Linked DNA regions of Homo sapiens: region 2 is linked to region 1. Evidence: promoter capture Hi-C in human tissues and cell types (Jung and others, 2019). All regions are on one chromosome and are shown on one strand. The core of a region is centred on a gene start or on the middle of the fragment in contact, and the rest is flanking DNA. Distances in the headings are between cores, read along the strand shown. Region 1 holds the start of BBS1 (Bardet-Biedl syndrome 1). Region 2 holds the start of RBM14 (RNA binding motif protein 14).

Region 1 (5,079 bases), core at 1,559-4,058:
AGCTATTAAGTGGTAGAGCTAGTTCTGTCTGAATCCAAAGCCATAGTCTTAACTACTATTTTATGTGGTAGTTATTTTATATGGGTCTCAACTTTCTAACTTCACATTTATTCTTTCCAAATATGCTATGAACTTCTAAGTCTCTGTCCTTCTGCTTGTGCTGTTTCTTCTACCTGAAATGCCTTCCCCATCCTCTCATCCTTGACTTCTTGATAGACTTCATTCATCCTTCAATGCCCAGTTCACACATTACTACCTCCTGGTGCCTCCAGACAGAATCCATTGTTCTCGTTGGCGCTCCCGTAATACTTTCTACATGTTCAATTTTAGCATCTACTCACTTCCCCACAAATATTTATCAAGTACCTACTTTATGTCAGGTACTGGACTAGATGCTGGGACTCAATGGTGAATAAACTAGCCATTAAACATTCTATTATGTGAAGATATTTAACATTTCTTTTTTTTTTTGAGATGGAGTCTCGCTCTGTCACCCAGGCTGAAGTGCGATGGCGTGATTTCGGCTCACTGCAACCTCCGCCTTCTGGTTTCAAGCCATTCTCCTGCCTCAGCCTCCCGAGTAGCTGGGATTACAGGCGCCTGCCACCACGCCCGGCTGATTTTTGTATTTTTAGTACAGACAGGGTTTCACCATGTTGTCCAGGCTGGTCTCAAACTCCTGACCTCGTGATCCACCCGCCTTGGCCTCCTCCTAAAGTGCTGGGATTACAGGCATGAGCCACTGTGCCTGGCTAACATTTCTTATTAGCTACTGTGTCTGTGGTTTCTCTTCCCTCACTATTGTAAGCCCAGAGCCAAATACAAACTAGGTATTCAATCAATATCATGGAATAATTGTCGACAGTGTATCTCCTCCTGACCACATGCTGATGCATTTCTGAGTGTAGTGTCCCCATGATGCCTGACACACAGTAGGGACTCACTATACACTTGCTGAATTACTGAATACATTATGGATAGGAATTTGGGGGCAAAAACCACTGAGTCCTATTGCACTCTCTGTGTGGGGTGGGATTCCAGGACTATCTTCTAGCCACCCACATGATATATCCATTGTGGTGTTGTTGCCCATGGTGAGGGCTGAGCTTTGGTAGAAAAAGCACAAAACTTGGAATCAAACAGACCCAGTTACAAATTCAGTAAACTTCACCTCTTTGAAACTATTTTCCCATTCACAAAATGGGAATAAATAAAATCCATGTTTATGTGCCTCCATGGAATGTCTAGTCCAGAAATGGATACTGAATCCATGCTAACTTCCTTTCTTTTATCCCAATATATTTCTCTACCTTTAAAAAACTTGTATCTTTTTAAATTTACATTTTTATTTAAAATTAAATATATGTATATATATATACATATATATACACATATATATACATATATATACATATATATACACATATATATATATATATTTTTTTTTGAAACTGTCTCACTCTGTCATCCAGGCTGGAGTGTAGTGGCATGGTCTCAGCTCACTCAACCTCCGCCTCCTGGGTTTGACCAATTCTCCTGCCTCAGCCTCCCAAGTAGCTGGGATTACAGGTGCCCATCACCATGCCCGGCTAATTTTTGTATTTTTAGTAGAGATGGTGTTTCACCATGTTGGACAGGCTGGTCTCGAATGCCTAAGCTCAAGCGATCCACCCACCTCAGCCTCCCAAAGTGCTGGGATTGCTGGCCTTAAAATTAAATTTAAAATGTAACATTTTTACTATGGAAAATTTTCATTCACATACAAAAGTAGAGAGACTCATATAATGAGTCCCCATATATCCCATTATCCAGCTTCAAAAATTGACAGCTCATGGCCCATCTTAAAATCTTTTGATAAACATCAAACGTTCACTTCCCTCCTTTTTACTTTCCCTCCAGATTCTAGTGCCCACCCCCAACCAAGGGATTTGCCCTTCCAACAAAGAAATCAGGTTAACTAAGAGGCTTTGTCTTAGTAGAATCCCCAGAAATATTTGATCTGCTTTACTTTCTGCAGTCTGTATTATGAAATCAATAAGTTCTCTTCACTTTCCATATAAAAACAAAATTTAACGCTAAATGTGCTTTTTCACAGTATATGTGAATTCCAGAGTATGCTGGGCCTATTTTCAGCCGTCAGGAAATCTCATTTCTGGGTACACCCCCCTACCCTCAACTCTCCTGGCTAGGGTGATATGCTTACCTTGTATTCCCCATCCCCATGTAAATCTGCCAGCGCTGGAAAACAAAAGGGCCAAAACCAGAGTCTCAGAATCCCAGAGGCTTCACTACAGGACCATTGTCTGACTCCCCATCCCACTAGAACCCAGGGTTCCTGGTTCCAGAGACTCACCTAGGCAGGCAGAAAAGGTGTGGATATTGGCCATTGGGTCGTAGTGCGCATCCAACCACTTCGAATTGGCCTCATTGCTGGAAGTGGGGGAAAGACAGTTGGGGAGTGAGTCCCATGGGAGGGGAAAAAAAAACTTTGAGGAAGCTGGTACAGGTCACTCTGAACATAAGGTACAGAACGTCTGGGTACAAGTCCAGGCTCCGCCACTGGCTCACCGAGCGACCTCCAGACACACATATGCACATCTTAGGCCTCGGTTTCCCTATCTGACCTCTTAAGAGTCCTTCCAGACTGCCCGAGAACAGCAGGAGCCCAGAGCCCGGGGACCAAGGGACCCTCTTTACACGGGTGGGAAAAGAGGCCTTGAGGAGCCCTGCCTTCACCTCTCAGCTCCGCAGGCGTCGGAATCCGATGAGGACGCAGCGGCCATCTTCGCAGGCGTCGTCCTGGCAACCGGCCCCGCCCTCGCGTAACGCCCAATAGTGCCCGAGCACAGGGAAGGGCGAGTACAAAGGTTCCGGGCGCCAAGCTTTCCCACCCAGGCTCAGGAGGACGCGCTGGCCACCTTCCTGGGTTGAGGAATCTGTCTCAGATTCCTCAAAGATATTTATCTTTGCTCCTTCCCAGTCAGAGCCACCTTTCCAGGCGTCTGGGTCCTACAATCTCTGGGTCAGCCACAGAGCCCTCTGGCTTCCAGGGTTGGAAAGAAGCCCCTTCTAGCATTTATGAGCAGCAAAAAGAACTCCTCCTGTCTCCATCTTCATGGTTACCCGGTTGAAAAGGACCATGTCCTGCCTTGCTGCGTTACTGTAGAGGTCCAGGCCCAGAGAAACAAAACACGAGGGTTATGGGACAAATGCAGAGGATTCTGACTGAAGTTGAGTTTGTAGGTTCCCAGAACTTTTTTTTTTTTTTTTTTTTTTTGAGACGTAGTCTCGCTCTGTCGCTTGCGCTGGAGCGCAGTAGCGCGATTTCGGCTCACCGCAACCTCCGCCTCCCGGGTTCCAGGGATTCTCCTGCCTCAGCCTCCCGAGTAGCTGGGATTACAGGCGCATGCCACCATGCCCAGCTACTTTATTTTTTAGTAGAGACGAGGTTTCACCATATTGGCCAAGCCGGTCTCGAACTCCTGACCTCGTGATCCCCTCGCCTCGGCCTCCCAAAGTGCTGGGATTACAGGCATGAGCCACCGTGCCCGGCCCCAGAACATTTAAAAATGCAAGGAATGCCACAAAGGAGAGCTGCAAAAATTGTGCTATGTTCAGCTCTGTGACTGCGTATCCTCATCTAGAGATAATGTCAACATCCTGTTGTGGAAGGGAGGCTAAAAATGGCCCTCCTTGCCCCCTCCCCAGGCCTTGAGCCCATCACTCTGCTGGGAGTAAATGAGAAGACAGGCAAAGGCAAGGAGGAGCCACACACGCCGCAAAGATGGTGGTTGTCTCTAATATTTATTTGTCTGGTTATAAAATTAATATGTGAGGAGCATTGGATTTGGTGAGAACGTTTTGAACCCTAGCTGTCACGTGCCACCTGCGGGATCTAGACCAGTGACTTCTCAGAACTGCCATTTCCTCATCTGGTAGACAGGATGGTAAGCCCTGTCTTGCTCACTCCACGTATGGCAGTGCAGATGAAATGAGATCACAGAGGGGAAGCAATTGGCAGGCTGGAAAGTGCTGACAAATGGAAGGGGTTGTGTCACCACCCTCAGCTGAGGTAGTACCAAGGTCCAAGCTCCTGCCCCTCCCCCTCCCCAGCCCCTAAATACACACACGAATGGAGGGCCACTTGCAGCCTTGGTCTGATGGAATTGGGGGCAAGGCCACACATCTTCCTCAAGCTTGGCCAGATGGGGCCTCACTGGGGCCCTTCCAGAATCGGGCATCGGCTGTGGCCAGCTGTGTGAGGATCTCCTCCAACTCGGGTCCATCCTCTGGGAAACGCTCAGAGAAGGATCGGATGAGGCCAGCAGCTGACGCCTCGTATTCCAGAAGCTGCACGTCTGAGCCTGGGGAGGAGATGGAGAGAAAACAGCAGGGAAAGGTCTGAATAGGGAAACTGAATCATCATAAAAATCTTAATAATCACAATTACAGCAGCAGCTGTTTCTTACTGAGCTCTGCCAAAAAAACCTGTGCTCTACGTTTTAGGTTAATTACTTAATTTACTCTTTACAGTAACCCTGTGAGGAAGGAAATACTACAGGGGGAGTATTAAATGCATTGCTGCTTTCGTTCATTCAGTCAATCAAATAAAGATTTAGGCTGGGCATGGTGGCTCATGCCTGTAATCCTAGCACCTTGGTAGGCTGAGGTGGGAGGATCACCTGAGGTCAGGAGTTTGAGACCAGCTTGGCCAACATGATGAAACACTGTTTATACTAAACATACAAAAAAATTAGCTGGGCGTGGTGGCATGAGCCTGTAGTCCCAGCTACTCGGGAGGCTGAGGCTGGAGAATTGCTTGAACCCGGGTGGCAGAGGTTGCGGTGAGCAGAGATCGTGCCACTGCACTCCAGCCTGGGTGACAGTGAGATTCCACCTCAAAATAAATAAATAAATAAATAAATAATAAAAGACACCAGGTGCCACACTAGGTGAAACAGATACAGTCCTTGGTGTCCTGAAGCTCACAATTCAGCAACGACTTCATCTGTCTACTGTGGGACCTGGGGCAAGTGTTGCAACCTCCCAAGCTTCAGTCTCCTCATCTGTAAAGGAGCT
Region 2 (5,079 bases), core at 1,685-4,184, 110 kb before region 1:
AAAAAATCTTAAACTTGAAACTACAGAGCTCTGTATAGGAAGAAGAAACAGTCACTCACAAAAATGAAGAGAAGATATTTTCCTCTTTTGTCTTTCAGATCTCCCCACAAGTCTGTACATGTTTCCGGAAGCTGTTCATCTTTGAACACCCAATAGGAGGAAGCTGTGGAGTGGTTACAATCCACTGTTGCTATTGAGATTTCTGTTCTACAAATCCTATCTAAGCTCCTGGAGTAACCAAGCAACTATGTTGTTTTTTTTTCCTGTGAAATAAAACAGAGCTGGTTGTCTGGTGCAACACCAAGCTTCTGTGCTTTTCAAAGCCCTGTCAGCCAACACAAGGAGACTCAATCAAATGACCATTCCCAGCATAAGAAATGAGTACGCTCTTTAGAGAGCCAGTCGCTTCTACTACACTCCCAACTTTCAACCCTCACTTTCCGTCATCACAAACAGATAAAAAGACATCAGTGGAGGATATGATGTTCAAATCTTTCCCAGTCTCTTACATCGAAGTATGTCAGGAGCTCTGTTACACAACAATGTAACTGCAAATAGTTGACCACCACTCCCGGAGTAAGTCAATGCATTTTTGCTAATCAAATGTTTACAAAGGAACAAGATGCACAAAACTCCGTCTAACTCTCACAAGGAGTCAGCCAGGAGTTCTAAAAATTCATGTGCAGTTATGCACTTCACCCGCATCGTCACTTGGTGTTGGGTCCCAAGCAAATTTCAGGCAAATTTTTGACTTTCTCTACCACCTGAAAGCCAGCAAGAAGCCTGAGTTCCAGGGAGACTGTCCCTTCAGATGTTTGACTCTAGACTCTCAACCTAGTAGCCACTCTACCTAACAACCACAAAAGAAACTTGGTAAGTCAATTAAACACAAAACTCTCACAAATGAGACTCATATACCCCACCCTTTTGCTGGACAAGTACCCAATCTGAGACCCTCCCCCACCACTCTTTTACTCTAAACAAAAGCAAAAATCCATGCACCATACAGCCTGCCTCAGAGCACCCAGCAGGAAAGCCCGATTCCGGATAGTCGTGGACTTGTATAACCTGAGTTGAGGAAAATAGAATGCAGTATTAATGCAGAACAAGGACTTGTTCCTAGTAGTGGACACTATGACCCTTTATATTTCCCCCACTTAAAGGACTAGGAATGGCCCCAAACATGTGCCTTTCCAGGACAGCAAATGAAATATCTTGGTGGGATAAATAAGCACTTGCACCCACATTTATTTCCTATCCCTGAAACTTCTCACACAGGGTATGAGCAGGTATGAACCCACCAGGAGTAGGGCATCAGATACTCCCAGGCTGCATCTTCCAAAATGACAGGGCAAAGTTAACTCTGATCTGTTCCCAAGTGGAGCAGAGACTGGCCACATACACAACGGCTGTCCCACCAAATCTTGCCAATGTAAAAGATAAAGAGCTTAAGGGATAAAAACTCAAGCTATGAAAAAGTCAACTGGGTCCCTAGTCAGGCTTAAATTATGGTGACACATTTTTCTCGAAGAAAAGGCACCGGGATCTGCCCTGAGAATCAGACTACTCAAGCAATGACTACTACTGATTCAGTAAACCGTGTTTAGCCACTGTTTAATGAAGAGCTCTCACAGACCCCTCCCCAGGACCCCCTCAGCCAGAGTATGCCCCCCTGCAAAGTCACCAAGCTTATAAAAGAATGACACTGCCCTAGGGCACTGGCTTGGCATGTAAAGACTACGCAGAAGGGGACTTCATAAAACAAGCTTTCTTGCACATGCAAAAGGCTGGGGTTTCCAGTTGACAGATGTAAAATCGAGCCCAAAGAAAAACCCCAAGTTTGAGGGAGGAGAAAAGCACAGAGCTGCCACGCCTAACCTACCTAATATTGAAAGGCCAAAGTGATTCGGAAGGGGCCCCTCTCGTACCCACGTGTAACTGTGCCCATGAGTAGACCCATGCCAGACAAGACTAAAAGACCCCAGCCCGAGAAACGTCCAAGGGCCCCGTTACCTTCCGCTTGAGCACATTCATCGGGAGGGAACAGGAGGGCGGCCTTGGGGCGTCAGCCCCCACCTTTTCCCTCTTCCCTTGCTCTGACCGACGTCTGGAGAGGAAGTGGGGAAGTGGAGAAATCTTCCCCGCTTCATGATCCGGCTTGTGCCCGTCACTTCCCAATTTCCGCTGGGTGCCAGGCCCAGGAGACCAGGAGAAGGCGCGCCCCCGGAACACTCGCAAGGCTCTCAGGCGCGTCCCCGGCCCCGTAGCTTGGCTCGCAGTGGCCGCCGCACCCACCCAGAGCCGCTTCCTCCTACTTGGTGGACGGTTCCTGGACCGCAGGGGAGGAGGGTGGCTCTACCCAACGCGCCCCCAACACCTCCGACCTGCTCCCGCGCACTTCCCCACCCCTCCCAACCGCGCAGTGACCGACCCCCGGGTAAGGGGCGTGGCTAACAGGCAGAGTGCCCCGAGCGCGCCCCCGCCCCCGAGCGCGCCTCCGCGTTACCTTTCACCACGTCACACTCGATGACGCGTCCGCGGCGCTCGAAGAGGCTGCGCAGTTCCTGGCTCGTGCATGCAGCCGACACATTGCCCACGAAAATCTTCCAAGTATTAAGAGGCCTTGGGCGCGACATCTCCACCACGAGCGCGCGCCCCGGCCGCAGCTCGTGGCCGTGCAGGGCTTCGATGGCGCGCAGCGCGCCCGCGTTCTCGCGCATGTGCACGAAGGCGAACTGTTTCATGACGGCGCAGCTCATGACCGTGCCGTAGGGCGCAAAGAGGGCTGCCAGCTCCTCCGGAGTCGTATCCGCCCCGTCGACGTTGCCCACGAATATCTTCATTTTGTCGCCGCAGCCACCTTCCTGGAGAGCCCGGACCTCTCCTCCAGCGACAGGCAAGACGTCCGAACGACCGGCAGTCCTCCTCAGGAATGGCTGGCGACCGAGAACCCCGCCGCGCAGGCGCCCTGGCCTAGCCAATGGGGACTCGCATCCCGCGCGTCCAGCGACCAATCAGAAACGCTGAGGGAAGATGTGCTCAGGCACAGCCAATCCCAGAGGGCCTAGAGCCCGCTCGTTAGCTGAGGGGGTGGGAAAGGGACGACCAACCGCCACAGCCCGTGGCGGGAGAGGGGGTTGGGAAGAAGAGGGAGGGCTGAAGAGAGGAGAACGCGCGCGAGCGGCGCCGGCGGCAGAGAGGCCTAGTCTGTAAGGCGGTCTCTGGCCCGGGTGGGGCTGGGACCGGCGGGCTCCCAGGAAAACTTTGTACAATTGGAAGTCAGGGCTCCTCCCATTCTGGAAGCCCTGTCCAAACCCGCGCCTGGGGGTTGCCGCGTGAGTGTACGGGGGAAGGCCGGGCCTGGCGGGAGAAACCAGGACAGGCGCCTTGAGTCGGCAAACGGCTCCCAGGACTGTGCTGAGCACCGCGAGGGGACCTGAGGCAGGCCCCGGAGAAGCCCTCGTGCCATTAATTGATTCTTTGGAAACATTCCCTGGGGTTGCTGAGGTCCTGGCAGCCGGTGAAAAATCAAAGGCCTCTGCCCTGATGGAATTCCCAGTCAAGAAATAATGGAATGACGTTATTGTATGTTGAAGGTTTTCATAATAAACAGTTTAATAAACGAGAAAATTAATTCTGCAGGAAGCAAAAGTTGAGCCTTAAAAAAAATTTTAGTCCGGGAGCGGTGGCTCACGCCTGTAATTCCAGCACTTTGGGAGACCAAGGCAAGCAGATCACCGGAGGTCAGGAGTTCAGGACCAGCCTGGCCAAAATGGTGAAACCCCGTCTCTACTAAAAATACAAAATTAGCCGGGTGTGGTGGTGCGCGCCTGTAATCCCAGCTACTTGGGAGGCTGAGGCAGGAGAATCACTTGAACCCGGAAGGCGGAGGTTGCAGTGAGCCAAGATCACGCCACTGCACTCCAGCATGGGCGACAGTGAGATTCCGTCTCAAAAATTTTTTTAAACAGATTTGAGTATGTAAATAAGATTGTTGCATGGCAGACAACATCAAAAACATAGACATGTGACAAACTCAGGGAAATATTTGCCTACGTGTTCAGTCAACAAATAGCACCTACCATGTGGACACCACCAAGAATATAGCAGTGAACAAAAAAAAATGACAGAAATCCCAACCTTCTTGGATCTTATGGTGGGGAGAAACAGGCAAGAAATAAGTAAAACATAAGCGTGTTAGATGGTGATGAGGACTTGGAGTAATCAAGGGAACTAAGCCATCCTCTGAGGGAAGATCATGCCGGCCAGAAAGTACAAGTCAAAGAGTGCTGGGGCAGAAGCAAATCTGGTTCAAGGAAGAGTCAAGAGCCAGTATGGGCCAGGCCCGGTGGCTCACGCCTGTAATCCCAGCACTTTGGGAGGCTGAGGCGGGCGGATCACCTGAGGTCAAGAGTTCGAGACCAGTCTGACCAACATGGTAAAACCCTGTCTCTACTAAAACTACAAAACATTAGCTTTGCGCAGTGGCAGTATCATAGCCAATGAGGTTTATCCGAGGCGCAATTATTGCTAATTGAAAACAAAACATTAGCCATGCATGATGACTGGCACCTGTAATCCCAGCTACTCAGGAGGCTGAGGCATTAAAATCACTTGAACCCAGGAGGTGGAGGTTGCAGTGGGCTGAGATCACGCCACCACACTCCATCCTGGCCAACAGAGCAGGACTCTGTCTCCAAAAAAAAAAAAAAAAAAGAGCCCAATATGGCCAGAACCTGGAACAGAGAGCAGAATAGGAGGGTGGGAGTTGTGTAGCACAAGGCCATTGAAATGGCATGTGCTTGGGCCAGGCGAGGTGGCTCACGCCTGTAATCCCAGCACTTTGGGAGGCTGAGGCGGGCGGATCATGAGGTCAGGAGATGGAGACCATCCTGGCTAACACGGTGAAACCCCGTCTCTACTAAAATACAAAAAATTAGCCGGGCATGGTGGCGGGGGCCTGTAGTCCCAGCTACTAGGGAGGCTGAGGCAGGAGAATGGCGTGAACCCGGGAGTTGGAGCTTGCAGTGAGCCGAGATCGCGCCACTGCACTCCAGGCTGGGCGACAGAGCGAGACTC

The links. The method cuts DNA at HindIII sites, captures the fragments that hold promoters and counts their contacts. A contact is called where the count stands out against the background at its distance.
Region 2: the fragment with the promoter of RBM14 here is called in contact with the fragment with the promoter of BBS1 in region 1 in 2 of the 25 tissues and cell types used here (H1 embryonic stem cells and mesendoderm cells).

The regions. Positions count from the first base shown.
Region 1 is chr11:66,508,364-66,513,442 of GRCh38, reverse strand. BBS1 (Bardet-Biedl syndrome 1) reads right to left here and starts at 2,808. Exons shown (of 17, transcript NM_024649.5): 1 at 2,737-2,808; 2 at 2,354-2,430; 3 at 2,204-2,238. The coding sequence starts at 2,783. It overlaps DPP3 (dipeptidyl peptidase 3), which reads right to left. Exons shown (of 18, transcript NM_130443.4): 18 at 3,786-4,364. The coding sequence ends at 4,192. RefSeq lists an enhancer at 2,897-2,946. The HindIII fragment of the contact is 12,258 bases long and covers 1-3,539 here.
Region 2 is chr11:66,614,485-66,619,563 of GRCh38, reverse strand. RBM14 (RNA binding motif protein 14) reads right to left here and starts at 2,934. Exons shown (of 3, transcript NM_006328.4): 1 at 2,507-2,934. The coding sequence starts at 2,843. It overlaps RBM14-RBM4 (RBM14-RBM4 readthrough), which reads right to left and starts at 2,934. Exons shown (of 2, transcript NM_001198846.2): 1 at 2,507-2,934. The coding sequence starts at 2,843. It also overlaps the pseudogene RNU4-39P. RefSeq lists enhancers at 2,689-2,918, 2,051-2,984, 3,349-3,458. The HindIII fragment of the contact is 10,275 bases long and covers 998-5,079 here.